2 separate regions of the Homo sapiens genome follow, and region 1 is linked to region 2. The links are contacts of gene promoters, found by promoter capture Hi-C in blood cells and fetal thymus (Javierre and others, 2016). All regions are on one chromosome and are shown on one strand. Each heading gives the region's core, a stretch centred on a gene start or on the middle of the fragment in contact. The rest is flanking DNA. Distances are from core to core; before and after follow the strand shown.

Region 1 (4,825 bases), core at 1,951-4,450, 2.5 Mb before region 2:
CACCTTCCATGTGCAATGATTGAGGCATTTAAAGCTCTTACAGGAGTATATCAAACTAATAAAGATTTTTAGAATGTCTGTACATTTTCTTATTTCTCTAAAAAGAAAAGACCCGCCCCTCCCCGGCCTTTAAATTCCCTGATGAAAGTAATTACAGGCTCATGCCTGTAATCCTGGCACTTTGGGAGGCCAAGGCAGGCAGATCACCTGAGGTCAGGAGTTCGAGACCAGCCTGACCAACATGGTGAAACCTTGACTCTACTAAAATTACAAAATTAGCCGGGAGTGGTGGCACACACCAGTAATCCCAGCTACTCAGGAGGCTGAAGCAGGAGAATCGCTTGAATCTGGGAGGTGGAGGTTGCAGTGAGCCGAGATCAGGCCATTGCACTCCAGCCTGGGCAAGAAGAGCAAAACTTCATCTCAAAAAAAAAAAAAAGAAAAAGAAAAAAAGTCAAAGAGCAATACCAGCTATGCACTTATGCATGCTAAAGTCAGTCTCACAGATACTATCATAGACCTTACTTAACATTGATATTTATATTCATGTTAATATATGTCATAGACATGGAAATACACTGCCCAGATCCTCCTTCAAGGAAGGGCTTGCAGCCCAACTGCAGAGAGCACAGTTAGCAGATAGACACCAGCTGTTAGCTTCCTCAGTGTTTGCCTCAGCTGCAGAGCTCCTCCCCACTCAAGGCTGCATCCTTCCCCGGGCAGTCCTCATTCAGTGACCCACAGAGGAGTTAAAAAGGGTGGTCTAGAGCCCCTTTGGCCCAATGTGGGGGCAACTTGACAGGCATACTGGCTCCAGAGCTCTCCACTGGGTTGGTTGAGCATTTGTCTGGCCTGTATCATAGTTTGACATTTTCCTTTGCCCAATCCTATTTCCTTCACCCCTTCACAGATATTGAGCCCTAATAAACATTTTGCATCCCAAACTCCATCTCAGCATCTGTTTATCGAGAACTCATATGTCACTACATTATAATTTCTCGTTCTGCATCTCTTGCATTTCTTTTTCAATTGGGCTTCTGCATGCAAAGACTGGGAGTAGCAAACAAATCTATGTGTATTGAATTACAAACTATGTCCTCTTAAATCTTTGTGAAATACATAAAGTTAATACTATTTTTTGGTGTCTTTTTTAAGTGGCTTGAATTCCGTAGAGAAAAAATAAAGATGTATACATGTAATATTTCAATTAATATATATCCTATCCCCATAGGCATAGAGAGCGTAATGGGGCCCTCCATTTTAGAGAGGAGATAAACAAAGATGACCTCTTTATAGGTGTTACTTGATCAGAGACCTACATAGATTGAAAAAAAGTGAGAAAGGTAGTTATCAGGGGAAGAGGGAATTTAAAGTGCAAAGGCCTTAAGACAGAAAATGTGTTTGGCATTTTGTGGGAATAGCCAGAAAGCCTTGAGGCTATGAAGTAAAAGCAGGCCAAGTAATATCAAGAGGGGGTGGGGCGGAGGAAGGAAACTCATAGGGCTTCCTAGGGTAGGTAAATTAATGTGGACAAGCAATCAAAAGCAATAGCAATCCCGATCTAATAAATTTGATAATACAAATTAGCTAGACAGAAAAAGCTATGTTGTATCCTAAGCTACTACAAGAGTGCATTAATACACCTGCTCCAAAGAAATGGGACTAAGGATTTACAAATATGGGATTCAGGAAATTCTGCATCCCATATTCTCCTTCCATCGGAATCAAATTCTAATGCAAATGAGTCACTAGACTTTCATCACCTGGGTAAAGTTACTCTTAAGAGTTAGACCACTTAAGAATCAGGCTGCCCTTTCTTGCTTTTCAAGAATACTTAGAATTGCAAAATTTGCCTTTAAAGAATGGCAAGTATATCCCATTTTTATGGCTGTTTGACAACACTATTAATGTAATAGAATTATTACACTGGAGGCCGGGCGCTGTGGCTCACGCCTGTAATCCCAGCACTTTGGGAGGCCGAGGCGGGCGGATCACCTGAGGTCAGGAGTTCGAGACCAGCCTGGCCACCATGGTGGAACCCCGTCTCCACTAAAAATACAAAAAAACTAGCCGGTCGTGGTGGTGTGTGCCTGTAATCCCAGCTATTCGGGAGGCCGAGACAGGAGAATCGCTTGAACCTGGGAGGTGGAGGTTGCAGTGAGCCGAGATCGCGCCGCGCCACTGCACTCCAGCCTGTTGGAGACTCCATCTCAAAAAAAAAAAAAAAAAAAAAAAAACCACTGGAATTAGTAAATAGATTTCAGGGATTTGTACGTTTGATTTCACTTATTACCCCTGCTGAATAAGCTTCTCCGGAGTATCCTACAACAACTTTTGGGTCTTCATTGCTTTCCAGTGGGTTAATTTAGAAACATTGTAAAGAGTTGCTCCAGCCCAACCGCGAAAGAAGCGCTTTACAATGTTATCTAGCGAAGCAAACATGAAGTGAAACAAACATGACTGTGTCCAGCTTTCTCTAAGACAGTGTAGAATGGCTCTGAAAAGAGCCTTTGTTTTCCAGTTTTCACAACCTCGCTCCTTATTTGGCCTTATGGTGGCTCTCAGTCTTCTTAGGCAGCAGCACGGCCTGGATATTGGGCAAGACACCACCCTGCGCGATGGTGACTTTGCCCAGCAGCTTGTTGAGCTCCTCGTCGTTGCGGATGGCCAGTTGGAGGTGACGCGGGATGATACGGGTCTTCTTGTTGTCGCGGGCCGCATTGCCAGCCAGCTCCAGGATCTCAGCGGTCAGGTACTCCAGCACCGCAGCCAGGTACACTGGCGCGCCGGCTCCAACCCGCTCGGCATAATTACCCTTGCGGAGCAGGCGGTGCACTCGGCCCACGGGGAACTGAAGCCCAGCCCGAGAAGAGCGGGTCTTGGCCTTGGCGCGAGCTTTACCGCCTTGCTTGCCACGTCCAGACATACTGGTCACAACTTACTGAAAGTAGCCAACGAGGAAAGGCAGCGCCTTTTATAAACACTATTGGGCGCGAAAAAGAAGATATGTCATTGGTTAGGGTTGTAGCTTAGTTTTAACCAATGGAAGTACGTCTTTTGGATTTGCAGATTGGGTTGATTGGGTATAACTAACCTCTGACGTCACCCTAATAACCACCAATCAGATACAGGACTTTCACTCTTCACCTTATTTGCATGAGAGGTCCTATATAAAAACGACTCCTGGTACCTTGCTCCCATTACTTCCCGTTTTCTCGATCTGCTGCTCGTCTCAGGCTCGTAGTTCGCCTTCAACATGCCGGAACCAGCGAAGTCCGCTCCCGCGCCCAAGAAGGGCTCGAAGAAAGCCGTGACTAAGGCGCAGAAGAAGGACGGCAAGAAGCGCAAGCGCAGCCGCAAGGAGAGCTACTCCGTATACGTGTACAAGGTGCTGAAGCAGGTCCACCCCGACACCGGCATCTCCTCTAAGGCCATGGGAATCATGAACTCCTTCGTCAACGACATCTTCGAACGCATCGCGGGTGAGGCTTCCCGCCTGGCGCATTACAACAAGCGCTCGACCATCACCTCCAGGGAGATCCAGACGGCCGTGCGCCTGCTGCTGCCCGGGGAGTTGGCCAAGCACGCCGTGTCCGAGGGCACCAAGGCCGTCACCAAGTACACCAGCGCTAAGTAAACTTGCCAAGTAAGCGTCTTAAAGCCCAACCCCAAAGGCTCTTTTAAGAGCCACTTAAATTATCGATATTAGAGCTGTAAACACGTGTTCCTAATCCAGGCTTAAATTCGGGCGATCTTTTTAAAGGGATTATCATGATCTTATCACACTGAGTAATGCATGCAGTGCTTGTAATCGAGTCTGGCTAAGGAGAAGCCACATACACTTTGTTAGTACTGAGTGAGGAATATGGCGCCTAAAAAATTAGGGATGTGCAGGAAACTTGTGTTAACAGAAAGTGCTTCCTGGCTCTTGGCGCGAAAATGGATACTTCCGTTGTGTCGAGTGCTGTGACTTCCTGTTAGAACTTGTTGAAAGCCTATTGTGTCACGTGTACTTTCCACCATGTAATGGCGTTCTAACGTGAGTTTATATATTAGTAAATTTGGTTCCCGATGGCGTTCCAGTACGTATGGCTTTCGCTCGAGCAGTTACCTTATTTAACCTCTTCTAGGCTGTACCCAGCTCTGCCTTGCTTTGCTTCCCCCTCACCCCCTGATTCCATCTCTGCAGCCCACGGGACATCGGGAAGATGCCAGACCACCAGGCAGGATAGTCTGCAAGGGTAAGGGGAGGAGCACAGCTTTTCTCAGGAGTGAAGAAACGGAACATGAAATCATCACGGAGATTTTTGGAATAGTTTACTAGTTTTTAAGGCATGTTCAGCGTCAATTGGTCCAATCAGTAATTTTTCCTTTTGACAAGAAAGCTTATAGAAAAGGAAAATGAAAAGCAAGTAGATTCAGAGGGGAGACAACAGACAGACTAGAGACAGTCCGCCCCGAAGCAAGAAGTTGGAGTAGAGGAGAAGGGAACTTCCCCAGCAGCACAGGGTTTGAGCTAAGTGTTAGGTGGTGGGTTAGAATTAGGTGGTGGGTTTTATTGTGTGATTAGAGGCTAGAATGACTATGCCGGTGATGAGCAGTGTGAAACTTTTTTGGAAGAACCAAGTGAAAGAAAGAGTCCACGAATTTTAAGCTAGGTTGTTACCTGGCTAAATTTGTGATTTAGAAATGTAGGCCAGTTTCACAGGGGAATTTTGTGTGTGTGTGTGTGTGTGTGTGTGTGTGTGTGTGTGTGTGTATTTAACATATTTGGCCACGCATTGTTCTAGTCTTTGGGGATATTGCCCGCCCTTAGGCATTTGGA
Region 2 (5,139 bases), core at 1,396-3,895:
GGGCAAATGTAAAGGAAAATATCTTGGGCCCCCAAATCACTAAGTTAAAAGGAAAATTCAAGCTAGGAACTACTTAAGACAAACTTGCCTCCCATTCTATTCAAAGTCATCCCTCTGCTCATTGAGATAAATGTGTATCTGACTGCCTCCTTAGGAAAGGTAAATCAGAAACTCAAAAGAATGCAACCATTTGTCTCCCACCTACCCGTGACCTGGAAGCCCCCTTCCCGCTTCAAGTTGTCCCGCCTTTCCGAACCCAACCAGTGTTCATTTTACATATATTGATTGATGTCTTATATGTCCCTAAAACGCATAAAACCAAGCTGTGCTCTGACCACCTTGGGCACATGTTGTCAGGACCTCCTGAGGCTGTGTCACTGCGTGCGCATCCTCAACCTTGGCAAAATAAACTTTCTAAATTAACTGATACCTGTCTCAAATTTTTGGGGTTCACAAGGTTTAGTTATAAATGCTTCTTATGGAGCATGATTTTCTTACAAGCGAGGCAGGAGAATCGGATCTGGAGGCAGGGAACCTAGGGCTGTTTCACGCTGACTTCCTAGAACTAAATTGAAAGTAAAACCCTAACTTCCCACACCAAGTAACAAAAGAACCAGAGGCTTCTCCCTTTCCAAACCCCCACCTTTTCTGTGTGGCAGATGGGAAATTGAAAGTACCTCTGATTGGTTGCAAAAAGCAAAATTACGCTAAGAAGTAAGTTATCCCTTAAAAAAAATTATTCTTTCTGCAACCAATCAGATCTTCCCATAGGAGTGTAACTATGTAACTTCACCATCTGATTGCACGCCACGTCTTCGTTTGCATATAAGGGCAACTTTGTAACTTCACTTTAGCCTTTCATTGGTTGCTTTTCACAGCCAATTGTGGGTCACCACTTCATTTACATGAGATGAGTACCAAGTGGCCAATAGGAGACTTCAATGGGGTATTAGGGCCCCTGAGCTGCTGCTCCACACCCCAAACACAGGAGTGTCCTTTCATTTTCAGTAAATCCCTGCTTTTGGCGGGGCATGGTGGCTCATGCCTGTAATCCCAGCACTTCGGGAGGCCAAGGCAGGTGGATCACCTGAGGTCAGCAGTTTGAGACCAGCCTGACCAACATGATGAAACCCTGTCTCTAATAAAAATAAAGAATTAGCCAGGCTTGGTGGCGCATGCCTGTAATCATCCCAGCTACTTGGAAGGCTGAGGCATGAGAATCACTTGAACCCAGGAGGCGGAGGTTGCAGTGAGCCGAGATCGTGTCACTGCACTCCCGCATGGGCAACAGAGCAAGACTCCATCTCAAAACAACAACAACAACAAACACCTTCAAGGTCTGGCGTGGCGGCTCACACCAGTAATCCCAGCACTTTGGGAGGCGGAGGCAGGCGTTTCACCTGAGGTCGGGAGTTCGAGAGCAGCCTGACCAACATGGAGAAACCCTGTCTCTACTAAAAGTACAATATTAGCTGGGCATGGTGGCGCATGCCTGTAATCCCAGCCACTCGGGAGGCTGAGTGAGGCAGGAGAATTGTTTGAACCAGGGAGGTGGAGGTTGCAGTGAGCCGAGATCGCGCCATTGCACTCCAGCCTAGGCAACAAGGGCGAAACCTCATCCTAAAAAAACAAAAACAAACAAACACCTTCGGGCTTTGTGAGTGCTGGTCTCAGAAAAGCACTCAGTCTTCCTCCAAGGGCTAACTTACTTCTTCAGGAGTTGGGTGCCTTTGAGAAATTTCCCAAACCACTACAGAGGAACAACTTCTCCCTTCGTTCACCACTCTACCAAGCACTTGGCTTTTGTACCTTATTGCAATTATTTATCTTCTAATCTTCTAGAGCCTAGAGAATTAGACTGTAATGTGCCTTAAATGCAGAGGTTTCTCTTACTCTTCTCTGGAGCAATGCAGACGTTTGTTGGTTGAAGGATCAAACTCCAAAGTCCCTCCCAGCCTTGGAACTGTCTCCACGAGTCATAACCATACTTATCTATGTTTAGATAGAGAACTTACGCGTTCGACCCAGCATATTTAGGGGCTCCATTAAAGTAATAATCATTATTACTAAGGTGAATTTACAGGCGTACTAGAACACAACCTAACAAGAGATAATTATTCAAAGCTCACAACGGCACCAAGCACGGTGCTTTCTTTTCCTTCATTAGAAGCCACGGCTTCTCCCCTACCTTTCCCATACCTTTCCCAAAACTCTCTCAAAATTGCGAGCCTTGGTCATGGCCTTTATCACCTCCCGCAGAGACTGAGTCATGCTGGTCATCGTGGACGGTTTTCCAGCCTTTGGGCTTTGCGCAAGAACGAACTTCGGAAGAGCTGGAAAGTCCAGAAGTTAGTGAAAGAAGGAGGACACAAAGGGCGAAGAGCCCGCACCCTTCTCCGCCCCTAGGAGCGCAAGAGGCCGGGAGTCAGGCGAGCTGGCAGCCCCGGTGGTCCGCGATTTGCTCACTGACTTTCCTCGCACCCTTGTGACGAAGCGCGCATGCGCGCTTCGCACCCACCGCCCCGGCGGCTCCCTTGCGGCGCAGCTGCACCAGTTTTCCGAGAGCAGCGCATTTCCCCGCCGGGCGGTTGATGCGGGAGCGCCATGACACAGGCGCCTGCGCAGAGCCGCGCGTTGGCCTCCTGTTCCGCTTAAAGGGGCGGTGCAGAGGCGGCAGGAAGATGGAGTTGGGGAGTTGCCTGGAGGGCGGGAGGGAGGCGGCGGAGGAAGAGGGCGAGCCTGAGGTGAAAAAGCGGCGACTTCTGTGTGTGGAGTTTGCCTCGGTCGCAAGCTGCGATGCCGCAGTGGCTCAGTGCTTCCTGGCCGAGAACGACTGGGAGATGGAAGTACGCTTTCGCTGTCCTCGCTTCCGGCTCCATTACCTAGGTCGGTGGAGCGCACAAACCTCATCCCTTGTGCCTTTGTTTTTCAGAGGGCTCTGAACTCCTACTTCGAGCCTCCGGTGGAGGAGAGCGCCTTGGAACGCCGACCTGAAACCATCTCTGAGCCCAAGACCTAGTAAGTGATGAGGGGAGCGGGAGCCAGTCCGCACGGAGGCAGTTTGATACCAGGTAGCCCTGCGCGTCCTGGGACCTGCCGTGGAGCTGGGCGGACGATGCTGAGGCAGATCTCCAAGCTGCGTAGCCAGAGGAGCAGGGCTTGCGTTGCTGCTGCTGCGCGGAGTTGCGCCCCAGCAGCGGATCTAACACTGCACCAGACTGTCGCTTCGAACGTGATTTGGGGTCCAGGGAGGAAAAGATGGAAATGTAATGTTTAACTCAAATGAAAGGAAATAAGTAAGCGAGAGGTTTGAAACAAATGAACGAAGGCTAAACCTTCTATCGAAAAATGGCAACTTGGAAGTCTCCTTGCTTCCTGTATTGTTTATTTATTCTAGGCCCTAGGCTGACCGGCCAGAATAACAGGTTTGTTGTTGTTGTTATTTTTTTTTAATGCACACCTACTCCTGTTATTTCAGTGCCCCTCTCCAGTTCCTGCACTTAAAAAGTGTAGCTGCCTTACAAGGCCCTCTACTATTTGGCTCCATAACTTAGAACCTGCCTTTCCAGGTTCCAGGCCTATCAAACTTTTACTTTTTTCCAACGGGTCATTTTCTCCTGTCTTTGAAACTTCGTAAAGATCTTTATTACCTGTGCCTGGAATTTTTTTCTTTTCCCTTCCTTGCTAATATTTGTCTTAAAGCCCCAAGCTGAGACATGATTTATCTCTAGGAAGCTTTTCCTGATGTCCTAAGTCTGGGTAAGAGTCCCCTTTTAGGTACTCTTATAGCATCCTGCATGACCCCTGTTACAATACCTTAGTCCGTATTATAATTGCTGTTCATTATTTTATGTCTCCTACTAGACTGCACATCTAGTAAGGAGTATCTGTTTTGTACATTGTTAATTTCCCAAAGTCTGACACAACATTTGACACATAATAAGCTCCCAATAAATATTTACTGAATGTATAAAATTCTCCCAGCTATATGTACAACCTGTAAAATTGACTGTTCATAGTGGAGACTTTATTTTCCCTTTGGTCTTTTCAGCTACACTGGCTTACAGATGTGATAAGATATTTTCTTTAGGTTCCTTTCTCTGTCTTGCCTCTTGTTGGGGAATTGTTTACTCACCCACAGTGATTTGTCTCTGGCTCCCGTTTTACTAACCAGAGCAAGTTGGACTAGGAGGTGTTTGCCTAGCTCAAACTGGCCAGTCAGATCCTCTCCTTGGTTTCAGAATTAGGACCAAGAGAGTCAAGTCTGAGTCTTCCTATGGAGCTGGAACTGTAACATGTTAACTTAGCACCTGTGAGGATTCATACATATCTTTTTTTGTGTACAGAGAAGCTGAGAACAGAGGTCTGCAGAGAGACAATGAAGCAGAGGGAAGTTGAAGTGTAGGATTGAGAGAAAGCCCTTAACTGCCCTTCCTTAAACATGGCTGTATTTCTGTACCAGGCTCTGTGACATGTTTGTTTCCTTATAAATTCTCCTGTTTTGGTCAAACCAACCTGAGTTAATGTCTGTTGGTTGCAACAGACTATATTGTAACCAATAAATAGTAACAAAATAAGTGGATTTCCTGTAATAGGCCCTCAGAAAAGATGCGGATCAAGCTGATCAATGGTGTCATGGCTATTAGGATTCTCTTACCCCGGAATGGTAAATTGGCAAAAACAAGCAAAGGTGTTGATTAGGCTGTGGTCTCTTGTCTCTCAGAACTCAGGTCAAGTATGAATGAGAGTGAGGTTTTAAAGTTTAGTTTGCTCAAGAGAGAAAAATGGGGAAGGGGCAAACTTCAGCGTGTTTCTAAGGCCTGTGACCTGATTAGATTTTTGATGTTGGCTTTAGCAAAAATGAAAGGGAAAAAAAAATTGATTGGAAGATTTTATGACCAGAAAAACTCAACCCTGCTGAGCAAGGGCATTGGCTGTCTTAAATGAATGGCGCAGGAATCTCAATTCTGGAGTGAATTCCTGGGATATCAACAAAAATTGAAATTGAACACTAAAGTGATTTAGTCCCCTACATTAGAATCTATCTTCAGTGTCTCTGATGAGAGACAAGGGAAATCCTCTTAAAACAGCTATGCTGAATCTTAGCTGCATATTGGAATTATCTGGGGAATTTAAAAA

Evidence for each region. Contacts are between HindIII fragments. The CHiCAGO score rates a contact against its expected background, and 5 or more counts as called.
Region 1: the fragment with the promoter of H2BC12 here is called in contact with the fragment with the promoter of TDP2 in region 2 in 1 of 17 cell types (M0 macrophages); the score reaches 5.5 in M0 macrophages.

What each region holds. Positions count from the first base shown.
Region 1 is chr6:27,145,230-27,150,054 of GRCh38, reverse strand. H2BC12 (H2B clustered histone 12) reads left to right here and starts at 3,200. Exons shown (of 1, transcript NM_001312653.2): 1 at 3,200-3,694. The coding sequence starts at 3,257. The coding sequence ends at 3,637. It overlaps H2AC12 (H2A clustered histone 12), which reads right to left and starts at 2,949. Exons shown (of 1, transcript NM_080596.3): 1 at 2,493-2,949. The coding sequence starts at 2,926. The coding sequence ends at 2,540. MIR3143 (microRNA 3143) reads right to left here and starts at 2,429; the gene lies at 2,367-2,429. RefSeq lists a silencer at 734-783 and enhancers at 2,563-2,812, 3,143-3,602, 2,857-3,773, 4,193-4,302. The HindIII fragment of the contact is 2,078 bases long and covers 2,310-4,387 here.
Region 2 is chr6:24,664,405-24,669,543 of GRCh38, reverse strand. It overlaps TDP2 (tyrosyl-DNA phosphodiesterase 2), which reads left to right and starts at 2,645. Exons shown (of 7, transcript NM_016614.3): 1 at 2,645-2,846; 2 at 2,933-3,018. The coding sequence starts at 2,682. ACOT13 (acyl-CoA thioesterase 13) reads right to left here and starts at 2,467. Exons shown (of 3, transcript NM_018473.4): 1 at 2,200-2,467. The coding sequence starts at 2,280. LOC124901279 (a long non-coding RNA gene) reads left to right here. Exons shown (of 2, transcript XR_007059509.1): 2 at 1-427. RefSeq lists enhancers at 2,429-2,723, 2,255-2,926, 2,927-3,599. The HindIII fragment of the contact is 8,130 bases long and covers 1-3,737 here.